Regions from separate parts of the Homo sapiens genome. Here region 2 is linked to region 1. The links are contacts of gene promoters, found by promoter capture Hi-C in blood cells and fetal thymus (Javierre and others, 2016). All regions are on one chromosome and are shown on one strand. Each heading gives the region's core, a stretch centred on a gene start or on the middle of the fragment in contact. The rest is flanking DNA. Distances are from core to core; before and after follow the strand shown. Region 1 holds the start of RORA (RAR related orphan receptor A). Region 2 holds the start of LOC124903501 (a long non-coding RNA gene).

What was found. Contacts are between HindIII fragments. The CHiCAGO score rates a contact against its expected background, and 5 or more counts as called.
Region 2: a contact is called between a fragment that was not itself captured here and the fragment with the promoter of RORA in region 1, in 6 of 17 cell types (M2 macrophages, M0 macrophages, endothelial precursors and 3 more). The highest score is 9.1, in M2 macrophages.

The regions. Positions count from the first base shown.
Region 1 is chr15:61,227,274-61,232,594 of GRCh38, reverse strand. RORA (RAR related orphan receptor A) reads left to right here and starts at 3,293. Exons shown (of 11, transcript NM_134261.3): 1 at 3,293-3,542. The coding sequence starts at 3,377. The HindIII fragment of the contact is 13,095 bases long and covers 1-5,321 here.
Region 2 is chr15:61,830,029-61,835,391 of GRCh38, reverse strand. It overlaps LOC124903501 (a long non-coding RNA gene), which reads right to left and starts at 697. Exons shown (of 3, transcript XR_007064668.1): 1 at 615-697. RefSeq lists enhancers at 3,049-3,913, 3,914-4,779. The HindIII fragment of the contact is 3,255 bases long and covers 1,133-4,387 here.

The DNA of each region.
Region 1 (5,321 bases), core at 2,044-4,543:
GGGAGCAGGCAGCAGCATGTGGCCTGGCCTGAGTACTGCACATGGATTGTGGAGATTACATAAGGATGTAAGACAGTTTGACAAACTCCTGCCAGGAGTGTCACACTCCCTATCCTCCACCCATGGGAGATAACATAAATCAATCACAGCCCACACCTTTCCACATGACGAGATCGACTTGCCATCCTTGGTATAGGAGTGCAGAGATAGGGAGATAGAGCCTTCAATACCGCGTTGACTAGTTAGTTGTTAATTGCATGGGCAATGGGGAGCCATTAAAGTCTTGTAAGTAGGGGAGTGACATGGTGGGAAATGAGAGCTGTAGTTCAGGGTAATTAACTTGGCAGTACTATCTGGAATGGATTAGAATGGTTATAAGACTGAAGGCCAGTTATTTAAGAGGTTACTGAGATGGTTTAGGTGAGCAATAATGTCTGGAACTGCATGGATGGCTGCAGAAAGGAGGGGCATATGTCATGTAGGTAGAATTTGTAGCACTTGGCAAGCATGTTAGGATGTGGAGAACTAGGGGCAGGAGCAAAAGAGAGGAGTCAAAGTTAACTTTGAGGTTCCCAGTAATTACCTTAGAGTAGGAGAAAAGTAATGTTACCATCAGGAGAGGAGCCTGGGATTGGCAAGGAGGTAGGGGGCGATGGCTGTGGTGTTGCAAAGAGGAGTTACAAAAAAACTGAAATTAGGCTGATCTCTTCCACAAGCATAGCTTTTCTAAGCCATTTTCAGGGAACTCGGTGCAAAGTAAAATAACCATTTTTAAGCAAACACTGTTGCCCTTTGTCAATGAGCAGAGTCTAAGGAAGGCTCCCATCTCTTCAAATATTTGGAAAATTGGAAAGCCTTAATTAGTAATCCGAAAGGGAGCATGACGGAAGGAAAGAAATATAAACCTAATCACTGTGCTTTTCAGGTTTCAAATGCTTCCCCAATCCAGGTAATTTACACTTTAGTCACAGTGATTGACAGTCAAGGAATGTATCTAACTCACTTTTATTTTTTCCCTTGGGGAAAGCACTTGAGTTCCCAATTGTTTTAAATTGCAGAAGCAGTAATTGTCTTAGAGAGTTAGGAGAAATGGCTTTTTGGAGCTGCGATCTTTTTCTGAAGGGAATATAGAGTCTATTTTAATTGATTCAGGTCATTATGACTATTTTCTAGATGGTCTTTTCAGGGTGACTAAACATCACCTTAGTTAAAGGAGAACAGTAAGAAACTCATTAAAGGTCCAAGGGGAACAGACTTAATAAAAAATGTTAACAAGTTGCTACTGGTACCTAAAAGGAAACCAGGGATACTTTTTAAGTCACTTGCGTCCCAGATAGAATTACTGGTGAAATTTAATGTGACGAGTATTTTTTAAAGTATTCTAAAATAAACATGAGGCAGCCAATGTATTCTGAGATGCTCACTGTCCCAGAGGAAGTTGTTTCTTAAACTGTACACTTTGATATATTTGTTTCCTTAGAAAAGTCAAGTGTAACAAGCTAGGTCAATTGCATCAAGAACATTACTAACAGGCTAACCAATGGTAAATGTTGTGAAGGCTACTCTGGAAATCTGTGCTTTCACGTATGGGGAAACCCACACGTCTGATTTGGGATGGAGGAGACAATTGTGCATTGTTTGTAGGCGCCAACAGACAGGCTAAAGCCAGGGATCCTTGCAGAGACAGGATTAAGGTATCAGGACTGTTCACATCTCATTTACATCACCCCGAAGAGTGGACCACAGGTTTTGCTGATTAGTACACAGACTATGGCAAAGGGCATTGTGTATTTGAAATAAGATCAAGATCAGTAACAGTAACAGAAACTATGTGTGAAATTTGGCATATGGCGGTTCCTCTGAAGGATTAGCTAACTGGGTTTCCCGCACTTACTATTTTTTAAAGCATTTTTCCAAACCAGGAAGTTAGCAAAAGAAAAATGTCCCCCAATTCCCTCCGCCTACCCCACGTTCTGAAGCACATATATTTATGCCACCTTCTGGCCTCTAATAATATTATTTATTGTCAAAATTTTGGATCCTTTTGAAAGGAAGGTGGGGCGTATTTCCACAGTGTCTTCGCAGGCAAAAGAAAGTGGTAGATTGAGTATGAAGGCAGACAAATCAGGCTACTACCATTGGAGTATTTTCCATTCTTTCAATTTGTATTGTTCCTTCATCTTGGAGTTTGCAGTCAAGGTAACGATGATGCAATTATCTGCTTTCCTGGAGTTTTAGGTACCTACTAGGGGATGAATGTATTTCAATGGGAGGAGGGTGTAGAATGATGCCTATAATAATACGAATTATTAGGAGCTGTTAATTATCTGAATGTTATCCGGGCATTAGTAATGCCTCTCCAGTATATCTACCTTTTATGGATGAGACTGTACATTTAATAGGAAAAGTACCAGTGGGAATTGACAATTAGCAGCCACGCTTGAGCTAGATGCAGCGTGGCATGTTTTATCCAGCTTAGATAGTTGTCGACCAAACAGGCCAAAGTTTTCTTCAGTAGAAAATGCCCTGCCAAATGGTTTCTGGATCCTTCGCGGACAAACAGCAAAGGAGCTGAAAGCGACCTCTTTCAACCATGCCAGAAACTGTCCATGGCGCTTCTAGATTCACAAAATCTGTTTTAGACACAGATGTCTTTAACCAAGATTGGAAACCCACTGGCCGTCCCATCCCAAAGTAAAAAGTGCCACGTCCTCCCATCCTCCGCCTTCCTTGGGATGTCAGCCCCGTTCTAATTCCTTTTTAGTTTCTCCTCAGCCCTCGGCAGGGCTGGCAGGGGGCTACCTGCGATTTCCCAACGTGGACGTGGACAATCGGATTTGTCTCTACCCAAGCTGGCAGCGGATGGGGACGAGTTCTGTTCCCGAGAGAGTCTCAGAAGTAGGCACGGAATCATCTCACCGATTTTAATTTCTGTCCCTGGGCTGGGGAGAGGGGAGGATTGGGGCGCGGGAGGCTCTGTTCTCCTCCTCCCCTCTTTTCCCCACCTCCCAAAATTGGCAGCCAGTCTGTGGCTCTCGGTCTGGGGTCTGGAGGGTGGGGAATGTGGGTGTGGGGGCCGGCTGGAGAAGCTCTCGCTAGCGCTGCCTGTGGCCAGACCCGCCTCTTGTCCCCTTTCGGGCGCACACACACGTCCACCCAGACACTCCGCGCGCTCCCTCGCGCTTTTGCTTGCCCGCCCGCCGCCGCCTGCTTTTTCCCTCCTGCTTTCGCCGGTCGCCTTCTCCTTCTTTTTTTTTTTTTTTTTTTTTTTTTTTTTTTTTTTTTTTTTTTGGTACCATAGAGTTGCTCTGAAAACAGAAGATAGAGGGAGTCTCGGAGCTCGCCATCTCCAGCGATCTCTACATTGGGAAAAAACATGGAGTCAGCTCCGGCAGCCCCCGACCCCGCCGCCAGCGAGCCAGGCAGCAGCGGCGCGGACGCGGCCGCCGGCTCCAGGGAGACCCCGCTGAACCAGGAATCCGCCCGCAAGAGCGAGCCGCCTGCCCCGGTGCGCAGACAGAGCTATTCCAGCACCAGCAGAGGTAGGAGGCTGGAGAGGGGCTGGGGAGGGGGCGGCGGGAGCCCGGGCGCGGAGCGGGGGGCGGCCGGGAGCGGGCGCCCGGGGCGCGGGGTCCGGCGGCCGCGCGCGAGCCTGCGGCGGCGCCCCGAGCCCGGAGGACCCCCCTCCCCTCCCCCCTCCGCCCCCCAGAAATGTTGCAAACTTTTGCAGCCCGTTCTCGGCTTGCGGGAGCAGAGTGGGGCGGGGGAGGCGGCGGGAAGGTTGACAGCCGGCGGGCTCACCCCCCTGGCTTTGATTTTTCTGCAAACACTGGAGGAAAGCTGCGTTGCCTCAATTAAATACGCTCCCCCAAAATACGGAGATGCGGGGAGTGGGGGCCCGGGAAAGAAACTTTTAAAGCGGCAGTGTCCTTTTAAGAAGGGGCAAAAAAATCTGTTTATGGCCACCCTCCTTCCGCTTTACCTTTTCTCCTCTTGACAGTTTCGGCCCTGGCTGCCCGAGTCGGGGGTGTGTTTTCGGTCCCTCTCAGATCTGGGCGGGGGGCGGGAGGAGTGAGCGACCTGGGAAGTCCCGGGGGTGGAGAGGGGGCGCTCCGGGGTCTGGGGGCGACGTGGACACCTTCTTTGGAGCACGGCGGTGCGTTTGGGATTTGAAGGAAGGGCCGAAGGAAGCGGGGTGCGGGCGGGCGAGCTGTTCGCCAAGTTGTCTGGCGGGCGCGGCGAGGGGAGATGCGCAAGTTTGCAGACCGGGGGTTCGGAGCCCGGCGCCCAGGCTGGCGGGGGGCGTGTGCGCGCCAACGCGCAGAGGGCGGCGGTCCTGTGGGGCGCTCCACGCGCATCCGGAGGGAGCGTCTACAAAAGCAAGCACCGAAACTTATTTCTGCTCTGGGAATCCTTCCCTCTCGGAGGTTCCAAGCATTTCTGCAGGAACCTGGGGATGGTCAGTGCAAGTTGTATGCTGGTTGGATAGTGCAAGCAATGTTTTCTCCTCCCCTGGCGATTTTTACTCTTCATTTTGGTGTTTGGTCTGTGTCTGCGTGTGTTGGGGGGGATGGGGGGGACTCAGTTGCTCCCTCCTTTCCTAAAGTGAGCTGTTGAGGAAAGCTCACTCTTTCTTGAAGGTATTGGAACCTGATGTGTGTTTTTCTCGAGAGTGGGGGATTATTTATTTGAATGCGCCTGGAGTTTGCAAAGAACAGGAGGAAGCTACAGCTTTAATTACTGTTGTAAATAATGTATAAATCGCGCCTGTCACTCCGGAGGAAGCGTGCTCGCGCGAGCCGCCTGGAGCTGGGGACGGAGAGGATTTCTCCAGCCCCGGCTTGGGTACCGGCCCAGCGCGCCCCCTCCTCTTGCACTCGGCTTCTGGCGGCGGTTGGGGAGGGCTGGGTAGAGGCGAATGGGGGCCCCAGGAACTGCTCCCTTCCTCTCGATGTTGTAGTTGGAGGTAGGAATATGGCTGATCATGTGCTGGCTGTTTTACAGTATCCCCCCCCCCACCTTAGCCACACCCCCTGTCCAGGCGCTTTCCCATTCACGGAATTCGAGTACAGTAAAAGCCATCAGGATGACACACGCGAAAAACATTTAATTAAAGGCGATTTCCAAAGGGTGACCGCGGCGAACCGCGGTTTCAGCGGGAGGGGGGCGGCGAGGGCTGGGACAAAAGGGAAGGGGATGAGGGCTGGGGGCCTGGACCTGCCGCTAGCTCGGTGAGTTTGTGTGCGGGGAGCTTTTGGCTGCAAAGAGTATATTTAGACCCTGAGACGGTGGATTTGGAATGCGAGCGGGTTATGTAACAG
Region 2 (5,363 bases), core at 1,511-4,010, 600 kb before region 1:
CTATATTTCCTGAACCCCAGCTGTCAGACCCTGCAAAGCCCTGTGTCTTTGCTGGAACAATAGACTGGAATATTTGAAACCAGAACTCCAGAAAATCCAGGACAGATGGCTTCCGTGATCGGGGCAAGCTCTGTGTCACAGAGCCCCCGGGCCTCCCTGCCCTGGCCAGAGTAACTCCTGCACTGGCACTCTGTGGCTGAGGGGGGTTACTGTCGGCTCAAAATGCCAGTGAGCAGGTCACTGGTTCATGGTTTGTCGGTGGCCCGCTCTCAGCGTGCACTGTAACCCCCAAGTTGAGCAGGGGGGTGTGATATGTCTGGTCCACCTAACCGGCACCTACCCCATTCTGTTTCCTCCTAGCTCTGTGTTTAAGGACCTCGTTTTGTGCAACCTGCCCCTCTGTGAATGTCTTCTGACACCGTGGAACATTCGATGAGAATAACCCGGAGCCACATTCCCACCGCACTTTAAAAGCCTTACAGGGTGCTTTTGCACACGGGATGCCCCTACAACCGTAAGGCAGGGGCAGGAAGAATGACCCTCGCCCCTCACGTCACAGATCAGAACAGAAAGGCTCAGAGCAAGTAAGTCCTGCAATTAGGACTCGAACTCACATCAGATTCAGCAGGGGTTGCTCGTACTTCCTCAGGTCTTTGCAGCAGCAGGAATTTGGGTTTGACTTTAGAGAAAACCTTCTGAGCCCCTGACCTTCAAACACATGGGTGCGTTTTAGGAGATTGTGACGCTGCCTTCAGATACTCTTCATAAAACGGCAGCGACGTGTGTTCCCTGAATGGGTTGAAGGGCGTCCTTCCTTGAGGCAGGAGGATGAACTGGATAAACCTGGGGGTGATTTCTAACCACACTGTTTTGGAGAACAAAGCACCCAGAAATAGATGAATCGGTCCCTTTAAACAGAAGAACACTTGTGTACAATTGTATGGAAAGCAGGCAATTTCCAGTTCAGTTAAGAACTACTGTAGGGCCTTTGAAGAGGTGCTCCTAAAAGGTGCTATGATGGATTTAAAAATTGTGTGCGGCTTGTGAGCTCATTGTTCCAGAGCCCGGCCTCTGTCCCGCGGGAAGCGTGCAGTTCTCTCGCTGGCCACAGGGTGGCGGAGTGACTTAAGCTTCGTGCCTCTTTCAATCTCGGGACAGAAAGCTCAGCTTCTGCCAAAGTGAGCAAAATGGAGCATCCAAGAGTTTGTTTAGAGTGGTGTGGACTTCATGTTTGTGAAAACTCTAAATGTCAGTGCTGGGAGGTGGTGAGGAAAGGGGATACTGGATTCTGAAGTAGAGGGGGCTTTTCCAAGGAGCATTGAGTGGCCAAAGTCAAATCCACCCATAGGGCCAGGCATGGTGGCATGCGCCTGTAGTACTAGCACTCTGGGAGGCTGAGGCAGGAGGATCACTTAAGGACAGGAGGCTGAGGCTGCAGTGAGCCGAGTTCGCGCCACTGCACTCCAGCCTGGGTGACAGCGCAAGACCCTGTCTCTTAAAGCAAAGAAATGATCACGATGACCTCATTAGCTGGCAGATGCTGAGTGAGCTCTGTCCCTTGGAGGCTCACCTTTGGAAACTGCAAAACCACTGCCACTTCCCCCATCTCTATCTGAATTTCCTTTTATAGATTGTTGGTCCTCATTTTTTTGCTCTTTTTTTTTTTTAATAAAAGGAGTGGTTTAAGTGTTTGTATACATTTTGGAGGAAATAATGTCTGATGAGGCAATGGTTCATTATTGAACCCCATATTTGGATATATGTTTCTAATGTGCATGCTGTATTTAGGGTTATGGTGAGAGAAAAGATTTAAATTTGGGAATAGTTTGGACCTTCTTGGGTGTGCATGCGCTGCACGGGCACACACACACACACGCACAAAGACAACACAGCTAGACCTGAAGGAGTGTGTGAGCCATGGTTAGAGACACTGAGGACCTTACCAAGTTCCCGGGTTAGGTAGAAAGGGTAGGATCCAGGATAGATCCCACTGTTGCCCATGTAGAAGCTCTGGGCTCTCATCTCTTACACTTCTGCCTAAACCCTTGGCGCCGCCGTATAAAGACAGTAGAAGTTTAAATGGCATAGTGAGATTAGCAGAAGGAAGGTTGAATTGCAACATGGGTACAGTTTTGAAGCACATCTTGGGGGATAGAAAAGCCTGTAATATTTTTTGTAGAAGTAATTAATATTCACTTTCTCAAACTTGAGATCATAGACTTGTGTGGTATGTGTGTGCCTGCAAGTGTCTGCGTATGAGACACACACAAAAAACACACACCATGAAATTGCTGATAATGCTTCAGAACAGAGTGCCCATCTTTAAATTTTTTCTTCCTTCAATATTTGCTTTTTCATCGACATTGATGACATTCATTTATTAATCTTTCCTAGACATTTATAGATCACCTACTGTGTGCCAGGCAATTAAGATGAAACAGAGTCATGCTGATGTTTAGAAAAAGACAGATCCCTGGGAATCCATTCTTTTTTGATAGGGAAAAGCAGGGCTCTACATTTGGCTGAGAATGTGGCTCCAGGATAGGCAGGCTGGGTTTGAAACCCAGCCCAGGCTCTTCCTATTATTCAGCTTCCTCCTCCTAAAATACGGATAATAGTATTACCCACATCAACACATTGTCGTCAGAACTAAATGAACTAACATAATGGGCTCTCCACAGTACACCCAGAAAGAAATCAAGAAACATGTAGCTCAAGGAATATATTATTCCTCTTTCTTTATCAACCAAAGCGTTCCATAATCCTCTTCTAACAAATATCTATCACGTGCTCATAGACCAGTTACTGTAGGGAATAAAGATGAGCTGGACAGTTGTTTCTGCTCAGGGAGCTGGGAAGAGCTGGGAGACATGTCACTGTGGCCACCAGGGAAGGGGTAGGTGGTGACAAAGCTCAGAGGTGAACCTGTGGCTCTGGGTCTACGAAGATGAGGGAGACGTGGCTGTGGCCTCCGGCTCAGATCGGGCTGCCTGGCTGGGAGCACTGTTCACCTGAGATACAGCTCCTAGGTCTTTTTAGAAACTGCAATCCAATACCTGAAGGACGGCATGACCTTCAGAGACACAGAAGGACTGTGCCTCTGTCAAGAGGATTCTAGGGCATAGGGCAGTTGTCTTTAGAGCTGACCTGAGCCCTCATTTGTAGGAGCTCCCTGAGCTGTGGAGGCCTGTGTCATTCTTCGGGGCCTGGTGATTAAGACAGGTCCATGCTGGTGCCTAGGGGTGCAAAGGAGGCCTGCCCAGGTACTATCTGCTCATCGTAGCTGGGGCTTCCTGGAGCTGTGCCTTACCCCAGGTTCTTGCCGCTTGATTGATGAAGGTGTGTGGAGGGGAAACTGTATTTATTAATAGCTCCCCAAGCCTCGAGTTCCCTGGGGGAGGATGAGTGAACGCTGGACTCTCGGCAGAGGTGGGGCAGTGCCCCAGGGGAGGCTCTGAAAGACTGAAAGCCAAGACCACTAGGGATTGATGCTGCCCCGTGCCCCACCCCAGGGCCAGTGGACCTTGTGGGTCACACAGACAGGGGCTGCGCTCTGTTCGCAGTGCCCAGCTTGTGCCCTCCACAACGGGGCACCCTGTAAGCATCTGCTGGGAGAGAGATGGAGAGAGTGAGGGCGAGTGCCCACGCCTCCACCCTGGGAGAGGCAGTGTGATGCCGAGAAGAGGAGGAGCAGCGCAAGAAACCTGAGACCGTTCTCTGTTCCTTTGTTAGCCAGGCCACCCTGAGCAGATTAGTTTACCTCTCTGGGCCTTGATTGAGAAATCTGTAACGGAAGGAGGAAAACCACTGCTGCTGCCTCCCTTGCTGGGCTCTGCCAGTGTTAGTGGCTGCAGCTGGTGTGTCTGGGACCTGGTAGTGTGTGCAGACAGCCTGCTCCGTGGGCTCAGTCCAGTGCCAGCTCTGTCCAGTAGCTCCCAAGTCGTCCCTTTCCTGCCCCTGTCACCGAGCCTCTCCCCTCAGGTGAGGAGCAACTGGCAGTGTGGACAGATTATCCGTCCTCACCACGGGGCCATGACGTTACCTTTCAGGAATGAAGTCCACTTGGGTTTTGAAATCAGTGGGCTCTGACCTTGCAGGCCTTCTTCCTCAGTCTCCTATTCCCGGTGGGGCCCAGCGGCTGCCCCACACTGGGGTCCCTGTGGGGTGCCACACTTTCCTGACACCTTTCCCTTCACACAAACCACAGCTTCCTTAGTTTCCGCGAGGTGGCCATCTAGCTGGTTGGGCAACATAGGCAATGTGGGTGGAAATACCTCAGGGGTGTCCCTACCCCCACCACCTCCAAACCGAAGTGCACTCCCGCAGTGCCCCATGGCAGGGCCAAGAGGGCCACGACTCCTCCTGCTTCCTTGTGCTGCTCAAAGCTTTGCCTTGGCCTTGGCTGCCTGTGGTTCACTCTCAGTGTTCTCCATTGGAGCTCCAGGTGAGGACACTCACAGCGTCCCCTCCCCACAGTGTCCCCTCAGCCTGCGCTGGTGCCCACCTCCCTGCAGAGTCAGATGACACGGGGAGATGCCTCCTGTTCCAGGCCCTGGCTGGGGCCAGGGCTGCAGTGATGACTGAGATGTGGTCGCTGACTTCCTGGAGCTTCCAGGCTAATTGGGGCAGTCAGATGGGTTTTAGATCTAGGCCTCATTGGTTCTCTGGATCCCTTGGCTGAGTGACAGCAACCATCCCTGGCATTTCTCAAATCTGCAGATGCCTGGCTGCTCTTCATTCCCATCAACAAGTATTTATCAGGCACTTCCTGGGTTTTGGGTGCTGGGCTGGAGGCTCCTTGTGTCTGTCCTGCAGCATGTGAGAGGCTCTGCTGCTTCAGGACGGCTGGACTTGCATCTGCGGGATGCACCTGTCCACTTATTTCGATGCTCTCATAGTCATAACTAGGACCATTCCAGATGCAGCGGAGAGAAGTTAATTTACCACTTACCGTGGGTGACTGAGGGCCCCGGGGCCTAATTAACACTGGGTTTCTTCTTTTTGCTGTTTCTTTGTGACACGTTCTCCCATTTTCCATCTTCTTCACATTGGTTTCTCTAGCTTCCTGCCTCTTCTGAACCTTTTATTTTTTAATCTTTCTTCTTGAATGATTTCCTGTATCCTCCATCCTCCTTCCTGTGCATAGCGGGAGAAAGAGGAGTCCAGGCCAGGGTGGGGCACATTCATTGGTAATGGGTGAAGATTCTGCTTGACTTGGAAATCCACACATAGAAGGGGTGGGACCTAAGACAAAACACACGTTGCCATATGTAGCCCCACCAGGATTTTTTTCAGGTTAACTATGAAGAAGAAAATCAAATTCAACAAATATTTGCATTACCTCTCCTCCCTCCACAGTGGCC